Regions from separate parts of the Homo sapiens genome. Here region 2 is linked to region 1. The links are contacts of gene promoters, found by promoter capture Hi-C in human tissues and cell types (Jung and others, 2019). All regions are on one chromosome and are shown on one strand. Each heading gives the region's core, a stretch centred on a gene start or on the middle of the fragment in contact. The rest is flanking DNA. Distances are from core to core; before and after follow the strand shown.

The links. The method cuts DNA at HindIII sites, captures the fragments that hold promoters and counts their contacts. A contact is called where the count stands out against the background at its distance.
Region 2: a fragment that was not itself captured here is called in contact with the fragment with the promoter of RILPL1 in region 1 in 1 of the 25 tissues and cell types used here (spleen).

What each region holds. Positions count from the first base shown.
Region 1 is chr12:123,531,572-123,537,040 of GRCh38, reverse strand. It overlaps RILPL1 (Rab interacting lysosomal protein like 1), which reads left to right and starts at 3,322. Exons shown (of 7, transcript NM_178314.5): 1 at 3,322-3,867. The coding sequence starts at 3,559. It overlaps MIR3908 (microRNA 3908), which reads right to left and starts at 632; the gene lies at 507-632. RefSeq lists silencers at 2,394-2,579, 2,599-3,288 and an enhancer at 3,504-4,321. The HindIII fragment of the contact is 25,082 bases long and covers 1-5,469 here.
Region 2 is chr12:122,880,197-122,885,665 of GRCh38, reverse strand. All of the region lies in intron 1 of VPS37B (VPS37B subunit of ESCRT-I), which reads left to right. Among named protein-coding and RNA genes, the nearest start is that of VPS37B, 13 kb to the left of the region's middle. The HindIII fragment of the contact is 7,734 bases long and covers 1-5,216 here.

The sequences.
Region 1 (5,469 bases), core at 2,073-4,572:
GAAAAGAAAGAAAGAAAGAAAGAGAGAGAGAGGGAGGGAGGGAGGGAGGGAGGGAGGGAGGGAGGGAGAGAGAAAGAGAGAGAAAGGAAAGAAAGAAAGAAAGAAAGAAAGAAAGAAAGAAAGAAAGAGAAAGGAAAGGAAAGGAAAGGAAGAAAGAAAGGGGAGGGGAGGGGAGGGAAGGGAAGAAGAAGAAAAAGAAAAGAAAAGAAAAGAAATTTAAACTGATGCTTTAAAAAATATTAATTAAAAAATAGTCCGGGAGGATGGCTTATGCCTGTAATCCCAGCACTTTGGGAGGCTGAGGCAGGCAGATTGCCTGAGGTCAGGAGTTCGAGATCAGTCTGGCTAACATGGTGAAACCCCCTCTCTACTAAAAATACAAAAAAATCGGCCAGGCATGGTGGCATGCGCCTGTAATCCTAGCTACTTGGGGGCTGAGGCAGGGAAATTGCTTGAACCTGGGAGGTCGAAGCTGCAGCGAGCTGAGATCGAGCCACTGCACTCTAGCCTGGCGACAGAGGGAGACTCTGTCTCCAAAAAAAAAAAAAAAAATTAGTAAACACATTACACGTTAACATAAATTTTTTTAACTTTTTATTTTTTTAGAAACAGTCTACCTACATTGCTCAGGCTAGACTAGAACTCTTGAACTCAAGGGATCCTCCCACTGGAGTAGCTGGAACTACAGGCTCACGCCACCGTGCTAGATAACGTATGAGTTTTTTTGTTGTTTTTGAGACAGGGTCTCCCTATGTCACCCAGGTTGGAGTGCAGTGGTGTAATCACAGCTCACTGCAACCTCTGCTCCCTGGGACTCAAGTCATCCTTCCACCTCAGTCTCCCGAGTAGCTGGGACTACAGGCACTTGCCACCAGAGTCGGGTAATTTTTATTTAATTAATTAATTAATTTATTTATTTATTTATTTTGAGACAGAGTCTCGCTTTGTCACCCAGGCTGGAGTGCAGTGGCACGATCTCGATCTCAGCTCACTGCAACCTCTGCCTCCCGGGTTCAAGTGATCCTCCTGCCTCAGCCTCCTGAGTAGCTGGGATTACAGGCGCCTGCCACCACGCCTGGCTAATTTTTTTTTTTTTTTGTATTTTTAGTAGAGATGAGGTTTCACCATGTTGGCCAGGCTGATCTTGAACTCCTGACCTCAACTGATCTGCCCCCCTTGGCCTCCCAAAGTGCTGGGATTACAGGCATAAGTCACTGCAACCAGACTTTTTTTTAAATAGAGACGGGGTTTTGCCATGCTGCCCAGGCTGGTCTCGAAATCTTGGGCTCAAGTGATCCTCCAGCCCTGGCCTCCCAAAGTGCTAGGATTACAAGCATGAGCCACTGTGGCCAGGAGTATTTATTTTTATTTTTTATTTTTCTGAGACAGAGTTTCGCTCTGTCGCCCAGTTTGGAGCATAGTGGTGTGATCTCAACTCACTGCAACCTCTGCCTCCCAGGCTCAAGGGATCTTCCCACCTCAGCCTCCCAAATACCTGGGACTACAGGCTCTCACCACCACGTCTGGCTAATTTTTTTATTTTACTTTTTTTTTTTTCTTTTTTTTTTTTGAGACGGAGTTTCGCTCTTGTTGCCCAAGCTGGAGTGCAGTGGCACGATCTTGGCTCACTGCAACCTCTGCCTCCCAGGCTCAAATGATTCTCGCGCCTCAGCCTCTTGAGTAGCTGGGATTACAGGCACATGCCACCATGTCTGGCTAATTTTTGTATTTTTAGTAGAGGCGTGGTTTCACCATGTTGGCCAGGCTGGTCTCGAACTCCTGAGCTCTAGAAATTTTCCCACCTCGGCCTCCCAAAGTGCTGGGATTACAGGCGTGAGCCACCCCGCCTGGCCTTAATTTTTTTTTTTTTACTATTTATTTATTTATTTATTGTATTATATTATTATTTTGAGATGGAGTCTTGCTCTGTCACCCAGCCTGCAGTGCAGTGGCGCGATTTCGGCTTGCTGCAACCTCCGCCTCCCGGGTTTAAGCAACTCTCTGCCTCAGCCTCCTGAGTAGCTGGGATTACAGGCATGCGCCACCATGCCCGGCTAATTTTTGTATTTTTAGTAGAGACGGGGTTTCACCACCTTGGCTAGGCTGGTCTTGAACTCCTGACCTCGTCCACCTCAGTCTCCCAAAGTGCTGGGATTACAGGCGTGAGCCACCGCGCCCGGCCAACTTTTAGATTTTTAATCAATACGTGCCACGTTGGGGTGCGCTTTATGGCTACAAGGGCATTAAGATTTCTTCCCTCAAGGAGCCAAGATCTGACGGTGGAAACCTACCTGCAACCACACGGTGAAAACTCAGGATGCTAAGAGCAATCCTGATGGGGCAAGCAGGGGACTGTGAGTTTGCAAGGGGGTCCTTAACTCCTGCGTGGGGGGCGGGGAGGGTGGATGGGGTTCTGGGTTCAGGAAACGTTCTCCCGGGAGTGGGAGGGGGTCTGATGGACAAGTGGATTTGGCCAGCCCAAATGGACAGGGGGCCTTGGGACAAGAGAACTCGTGGTGCTGGAATGCCAAGCGGGCTTCGCTCTACTGTGAAGTGGCGTTCATGTCACAAGGAGCCAGTGATGGATGTGGCTCGGGGAGGCGCGCCCTGGGGCTCCGGGGATCCAGCATTCCTCGACACGTCGGCCCCTCTCCGGGCGCCTCTGCAAGTCCGCCTGGTGGCCGGGTCTGCGCGGAGTGTCTGCGGGCCGGGGGGGGTCCCCGTTCTCTTCCTGGGATGAGCCCCAGCCCGGGGACCTCCTCGTGACCCCTCCATCCCTCTCCAAGGCCGGGGCCGCTACCCGGAGCAGCGAATCGTCCCGCGAGACCAGCGCCCCCGGCCCCCTCTCCCGGGGCGGCCTGGACCCCTCCCGGCGGCCGGGTGGTGGGAGGAGTCAGCGCCGGGCGGGGGAGGGGCGGCCGGGGCACGGGTGAGGGGCGCCGCGGGTCCGGCGGCTGGAGAGGGGGGCCCGGAGTGCAGGCCGCGGAGTCGGCGCTTGGGGGGGTACCCCGGGGCGCCCCCGGGCGGCGGAAAGCGGGCGCGCCCCTGGCCAGGCCGGGATTGGGGCGGGGCGCGCGGCCTCCCTGTGGGGAAGCGATCACCCGGCCTCGCAGCCGCCGCCGCCAAAGTTTCCCGGAGGAGCCGCGGGCCGCCCTTCCTCTCCGGCCCCGCGCTCTGCCGCCCCTCAGGCCCGCACCGCCCCGAGGCGCCCGGCCCGGCTCCATTGAGCGCAACTCGGATCCCAACTTGGGAGGCGCCGCGGGCCTGCGCACGCGCGCGCCCTCCCCGCTGCCGCCGCCGCCGCCGCCGCCGCCGCCGCCCACTCGGGAGCAGCTCCGGGCCGAGCCGGGCGCCCAGACCCCGGGCCCGCACACCCCGCGCCGCCGCCCGTGCCCGCGCCCGCGCCCGCCGCCCGCTGCCCGCTGCGCCCTCGCCCCAGCGCCCGCTGAGCGCGCCCGCCCGCGGCCCAGGCTGGGCCCGGCCGGCCCGGCCCTCGACAGCGGCAAGTTTGGGAGTTGCACGAGTTTGCGGGGCGGGGGACAGGCCAGGAGGGTGGCCATGGAGGAGGAGCGGGGGTCGGCGCTGGCGGCCGAGTCGGCGCTGGAGAAGAACGTGGCCGAGCTGACCGTCATGGACGTGTACGACATCGCGTCGCTTGTGGGCCACGAGTTCGAGCGGGTCATTGACCAGCACGGCTGCGAGGCCATCGCGCGCCTCATGCCCAAGGTCGTGCGCGTCCTGGAGATCCTGGAGGTGCTGGTCAGCCGCCACCACGTCGCGCCCGAGCTGGACGAGCTGCGCCTGGAGCTGGACCGCCTGCGCCTGGAGAGGATGGACCGCATCGAGAAGGAGCGCAAGCACCAGAAGGTGGGCGGCGGCCTCGGTCTGTCCGTCCGGGCAGTGGGACCGCGGGGACCCAAGGGCTCTTCCGCATTGGGCAGCTGTGGGTGCGCACGTGTGTGTGTTCAGGGACCGGACCAGAGGAGACCCGACGTGGGGAGGGAGGGAGGCCCTGGCCTTCTTTTGCCCGACCAGGGGTGGCTGGCAGATACCACCCGAGAGATTAAGAGCTGTTCTCTGGAGTTCCAATCCCACCTTTACCGTTTAATAGCTGTGTGACTTTAGGTAAGTTACTTAACCTCTCTGTGCTTTATTTCCTCACCTGTCAAATGGTAATCATAATAGGACCCACCTTAGAAGAATTAAATGGGACCATATAAGCTAAGTGCTTAGACATATTATTCTCTTCCAGACATGAAATAAGCCTCTTGGCCTCCCGAGTTACCAAGAAGATGTGACATCAGGCCCAGGACCCTTTCTTCATCCCCCCCCCCCCCAGTCTCCCCAGAGCAAAGGGAATGTGACCTCCAGCCACTGAGCTTCGTGACCCCTAGTCTTCGGGTTCATATTTGCAACTTTCTTCCCGGGACTCCCCTAGCTTATGAACCTGTGGTAGCCCGTGTTCTCTCCTCTGATTTTATCCTTAATCCTCACAGGACTCTATAGAGACTATCTTCATTTTACAGATAAAGAAACCGAGGGTCACAGTGGGAGGAGCAATTTGTCCCAAATTAGTGGTGAGAGAGTCCCAGCCCCCGTGTCTCCTCCCCACCCTGTTTGAATTGGGGGAAAGGGATGATTTGGGGTGGCTTTAAGGCTAAGCCTCTGCCCTGTGATCAGGAGTCTCTCTGAATCAGGGCCTCCCCACTGGGCCTGGAGTTCAGACGAGGTTTCTGGAGAAAAGGAAGTGAAAGACATGTGGTTTCCTGCCCTAACCTCAGCCAGGGATGCTCTTGGCAGCCCCTTCAGACTGAGAATGGGAGGAAACACCTTTCCTTGAGGGATCAGGGTGCCTGAGCAGTCTCCAGCTTGCTGTTCAGCCTCAGGAAATACAGATGGCCTCTCTGAACCTCAGGGGCAGGCCATCCCTTATTGTGTACTTTGATGGATCTCTGTGTTTTGGAGTAAAATAGCCAAAGCTGGGTCTGAACCCTTTACCTGAGGGCAGACCCACAGGTAGGTAACAGCACCATTGCCATGTTTGACTGTGCTCGTCCTCATGGGTCCCTATGCCCTAGGGGCAGGAAGGAAACTCAGGCTCCCAAGAGTTGAGCAGCATTTCCGAGGTCACTCTGGGAGCCTGAAAATGCTTTGACCTGTAATTAATTTCAAGACTCCTAGAAGCTAGGACTTTGGAGCTAGACAGCCTGGTTTCAAACCCTACCACTTGCAGGCTGTGTGATCTTGGGCAAATCACCCAGCATCTCTGTGCTTCAGTTTCCTCAGTTCTAAAATGGGATAGTAATAGTACCCCCATTAGAATGTGATGAGGTTTAAAGAGTTAATATAAATACATATAAAGTGTTCAGGACAGAGCCTGCCCATAGCAAGGGCTTTGCAAGTCTTAAAATTCTTTTTAGGCCTGGAGAGACATTCATTGAGGTGCTCACAGGCTCATATTAGGAAACC
Region 2 (5,469 bases), core at 100-2,599, 650 kb after region 1:
TTTACATGTTTATTATAGAAAATTTGGAAAACACAACCATAAAGAAGAAAAGTGTAATCACATCATATCACTACCCAGAGATAAACACTGTTAACAAAGCATTTAAGTTTTTTTCCTTTGTTGTTCCCTTTTGGGATGATTTTTTAGAGTTTTTGTAGAGTTTTTGTTTGATTTTAACCTAAAGTTATACTCTGGGTATTTTCTTATTTTTTAAATCAGAATATTCTTACATGACATGATTTTTAACAGCTATGTGATCTTTCATGTGGATATGTCATTTATATAACCATTCCTTTATTGGATATTTAGGCACTTTTTTGCTGTCATAAATTATAATGCAGTTAACATCTTTGAAATCTGTTTAAAACAAATACGTTAAAGTGATCAACATTTAACTTTTTTTTTTTTTAGTAAGTCTTAAGTGTCTAGGCAGTTTTTAGGTAAAATATCTGATCCCCTACATGAAATATGATTATATAGTTTTTTAATTACGAAATTTCAGTGGAGTAATCTCAACAGATTCTCTTTTGACTAATCCCTTTTTTCCCTAACCACAGACTGAAAAAAAAAATTCCATTATTAGAATAGCATTTTCTCATTTAAACGGAATAGAAGATGAGTAATTGGAGTCACGTGAGAGTTAAATTTTATCTGTTGAACCAAATTCCGGGTCAGGTGTTGGAAAGTTCATGTCATGATGTATTTTAAATGTAAAAACAAAATTGTCAAAAGATACAGTCTTAATAAACATAAATCCAGGGTCCACCTGGATAGGCACTTTCTTATTTGCACCTGTGTAAAGACTGGTCCGAAGAATTCTTAGACATGAATTTCCAGAAATTGTAAAAAGGAAATAGAGATGAGGGGGAAAAAACAAACAATAAAACCCGAAGCTCTTCCTAAACAAATGAATGCTTTGGTTGTTGGTCCTGGCCAGAAACTATTAATAAGAAAATCAGAATTTTAGGAATTCTGTCTTCCGTAAGCTGGTTTTTTTTTTGAGATGGGAGGGGAGTAGAAGCTATTAACTGACACCCCTCATGGTCAGGTGGTCATGACTAGGTATCTGGACATTTCTGCTCCTACACTGGAATCTCATACTTACACAGGATCAAATGTGTTCACTCCCAGATCTGTTCATTCTGGTTTTATTACAATAGTTCTATGATTTCATTAAATCCTGGGGCAACTGGATTTTTGCATGAGTGCAAAGAGAAAGTTATTTCTACAAAAACTGTCAACTGAGTGCTTTGGAAAGCATAGATATAAATTGATTCTCTTGAAAGAAAACTTGGTGGTGAATTAGGTCTGGACTAGATAGGGGAAGTGGAAGAATTCCCAAAGGACTCGGACTCTGCCCTGATTGCTTATCCGGTGTCCAGTTCCCACCCCACAGGAAAAGGCGTGGCCTATTGGAAAAAGAACTTCTAGTGGACCCCTTCCCTTAAGAAAAGACCTTTACCTTAAATGAAACATTGACAACAGATTTTTAAAATGCTTAGTGTGTGCTTTAACCAAACTGCTCAGTTACAGGGACCTAACTGGTTCTGATGATGTGGAGTGGAGGGCTCCGCTGTGCATTTCCTGGCCTTTACTGCTGAGATTCTAATTCGGAAGGCCTAGGATAGGGCCAGAGGACAAAGGCAGTTAACTTTGTGATCTGTGTGGGTGTCCCATCTTGTCTTCTGATCCTCACTCCTGCCCTCCTTCCTCCAAGGTCTCCAGTTATTCTGAAGCCAGTTAGGACATTTTATAACATATGCCAGTTATCAGAACCATTGACACCTGTTAGTATATTTCTTTATTACTGACACCATTATCCACATTATAAGTCCAAGAAGAAGGGAGAGCTTGTTTTTCCTCTGAGTATTAGAAAATATGTCTTCTGGCCAGGCACGGTGGCTCACGCCTGTAATCCCCAGCACTTTGGGAGGCCAAGGCAGGCGGATCACGAGGTCAAGAGATCGAGACCATCCTGGCCAACATGGTGAAACCCCATCTCTACTAAAAATACAAAAATTAGCTGGATGTGGTGGTGCACACCTGTAGTCTCAGCTACTTGGGAGGCTGAGGCTGGTTGAACCCAGGAGGCAGAGGTTGCAGTGAGCTGAGATCGTGCCACTGCACTCCAGCCTGGTGACAGAGTGAGACTCTTGTCTCAAAAAAAAGAAAAAAGAAAAGAAAATATGTCTTCTAGGAAAAACCAAACCCTCTCCTGGTAAGTTGTGCCTGCCAGCCCTAGAAACTGTCAAGTGTGTCACTTTCCATCTTACCTAGGAATAGTCCATTTATTTTCGAGCCTAGCTTTTTGTGTTTCTGTGGTTAGCTGCACTCACACGTACCAATTTTTAGATTCACGTCAGCTACATATGGAGGGGATCGTTTGAGTCTAGATCTCACTGTCTGTTCCTTTTCGAGGGAAGCAAGTTTTCTCTCAAGAAGGATTTTGATGTCTCCGATAAAAATAGCTATCTTTATTAATCTAATAGTTGGAAGTTAGAGGTTCTGTGTGTGGAGTGGGTTGTTTGGTGGAACATTCGATAAGCAGCTGGTAAGTTTCCTTCCTGAGTGGGCTGTAGCCTTGGAGATGGTTTCACACAACCCCCAGGATTGTCGTATTTTAGGACTGTTTCATAATGTTCTCCGATTCTTTAACTATATTTCTGTATTTGCAGATCTTTTAATTTTGTCAACATGTTAATAGTCCAACTCCGCAACTGTTAAGTTTGTTTCAGTAAAACTGAAGATTTGAATTAAGCCACATTAATGTGTTTACAGCACATCTAAGGGCCATCGTAGGCTTGGGTTACAGGCTTCACCTGAAGACCTGAATTCAGGTGGAGACTGGTGAAATTAGTTTGTCATTGGGAATATCTTTTTACTGAATGAAGGTGAATTTGGACTTTTAAATAACCTAGCCTTTAATGTAAAGCTCAAACTCAAATTGCATGTTACTTTGGTGAAATTTACCTTGAAATTAGTTGGTGTGATAAATCAAGTATAGTAAAATAAAAAGAGATGCAGTTAACCTAGCTGAATGTATGGCAGCCTTTCTTTATCAAACCTAACCCATAAGCCTGCTGCATTTAAGGTCTTAATGCAATTTGAGAATATTTCTAGTAGTAGAATAGTACAAAAGCTAAGATTTGTTTTATTCCTTTTCTTTGTGTTATAGATAACTTTGAATTTAATTTTATCTGGAGAGGAAAAGGTGAAAATCAAATTTCCCACCAAAAGGAACTAGTATTCCTTTGAGAAGGGCCAGCTAAGCTTGGGGGCAGCAAATGTACAGGATTGGTCTTAGACATATTTTACTGGAGAGCAGGGCAGCAGTGGTGTCCCAGAACAGCCTTTTATCAGAGATAAAAACTTCATTACTTCATAATGATACTCCCAAAAAGCTTATTGGTCATTTTTGGAGTTTGCTCAGGTATGAACTCAGTCTTCCAAAAGTTGGTTTAAAAAGAAAAAAAAAAGAACCAAGCATTTATCCAGCTTTTCCTATATAAACTGTATTTCATGTAGTCAAATAGATGAGGCAAAAAGTTTTTTATAGAAGAAATTGAGCCAACACATGCAGAGGATGATATTAAAGGATTATTGTGAATTTTGCTAAATGTGATTATGGCATTGTAGCTAGGGTTAAAAAGTTCTTACCTGTTAGAAATATAAAATTTTTAAGCATGAATGATGATGCTCGAAGTTTGCTTTAAACTACTTTTAAAAAAAAGCGGGAATATAGATGAAGATTGGCAAATGTTGCTAATTGTCGAACCTAGGAGACGGTTATACATAGTTTCATCATACTCATCTCTCTACCTTTACTTTTTGAAAGTATCTTCTATAAAAGGTTTTTTTAAAAAAGGTATAAATAGGAATGAACCTTAGATGATTGTTGTTATAACATGAAAATAGAGAAATAGTAAACTAGTAAATTTCCATTTGATCCTCTGCTGGAGTGTAGTGGTGTGATTACAGCCCACTGCGGTCTTGCCTTCCCTGGCTCAAGCAAGCCTCCTTCCTCAGCCTCCCAGTAGTTGGGACCACAGGTGCATGCTGCCATGGCTGGCTCATTTTTTATTTTTTGTAGAGATGGGGTCTTACTTTATTGCTCAGGCTGTTCTCCAACCAACTCCTGGGCTTAAACAATCTGCCTGCCTGGGCCTCCCAGAGTGCTGGGTTTACAGCCATGAGCCACCATACCTGGCATAATTTATTTTTAGAGATAGGGTCTCACCATGTTGCCTAGACTGGCCTTGAACTCCTAGGCTCAAGTGATCCTCTTGCTTCAGCCTCCCAAGTAACTGGGGCTACAGGCGTGAGCCACTGCACAGTAGTTAAGATCGCAGCTCTGGAGGGAGTTACTAGCAGTTGTAACTTTGACAGCTCGTTTAACCTTCCTAAGATTGTGTTTCCTGTCTCTTGAGTAAAATGAGGACAAATTTGTCTCACTGTCACAGAGGATAGAATGGAGACAGTGGAACTAAGAGAAGGTGGCACATGCTAGCTATGCTCAACAAATGTCAGCAAATTTTGTTGAAATGTGGAAGATACTGACAAGAGCAAAGTTTTCAGATCAGCACCAGTAACTTGTCTTACTTAAACCGTTAAAATCACATCTGTTTTGATTTTTCCCCTTTTTCTCTTTTGAGCCTTTTATTGGAAGAGCAGATGCAGTCTGTGCGGGTATGCAGTGCTGCAGTACGAAGTGAATGGCACCCCCTGGAGTTGGGCAGTGCACAACGCTCAGTGCCTTACGTAGGAGGATGGGCTTGACTGAGACTCTGAGCCAGACTCCCTGTGATGATGGTGTCTCCCCCGAGCCTGGCACACAGAGGTGCTTCCCAAGTATTTCTTGTATGAATGAACGAACAGATGAATGGGCCAACCACTGTGCTGGAGCATGTCATTGTGGCCCTGATGAGCTGTAGAAATGGAAGCTTGGGATTAGGGTTTTTCTGTGTGTGTGTCGTGTTTGTTTTTTTTTTTTCCTTTCTGTGGAGATCAGTGCCTCACTCCGTTGCCTAGGCTGGTCTTGGTCTCCTGGGCTCAAGCAATCCTCCTGCCTCTACCTTCCTTAGTGCTAGAATGACAGGCGTGAGCTACTGCACCGGTGTGTAAATTACACGTGTAAATATAGTGGCTTCGAGGCTCTCATGACAGTAATGCTACTCTAACATTCTGATATGCTTTCTAAGTGGGAGAGGGCTGATTTCAGTGAAGAGAAGCGTCGCACAAAGCCAGCTTGTGTCTGTGTCTCCGTGTGTGTTTTGTGTCTCATGTTTCACCACAGTTAATGGGTAGCTTCGCTTTCCAGCCATCAGTGTCATCATCTTCATTTTTCCCCCTTTCCATTTCACTGCCAAACTGTTATCACTGCTGGAGTAAAAGCTAGGAATGCAAGTAGTTTCCCAGTTTATAGCTGGTTGTATCAACCCATGACGTTACTGTTTATGAATTTGAACATTC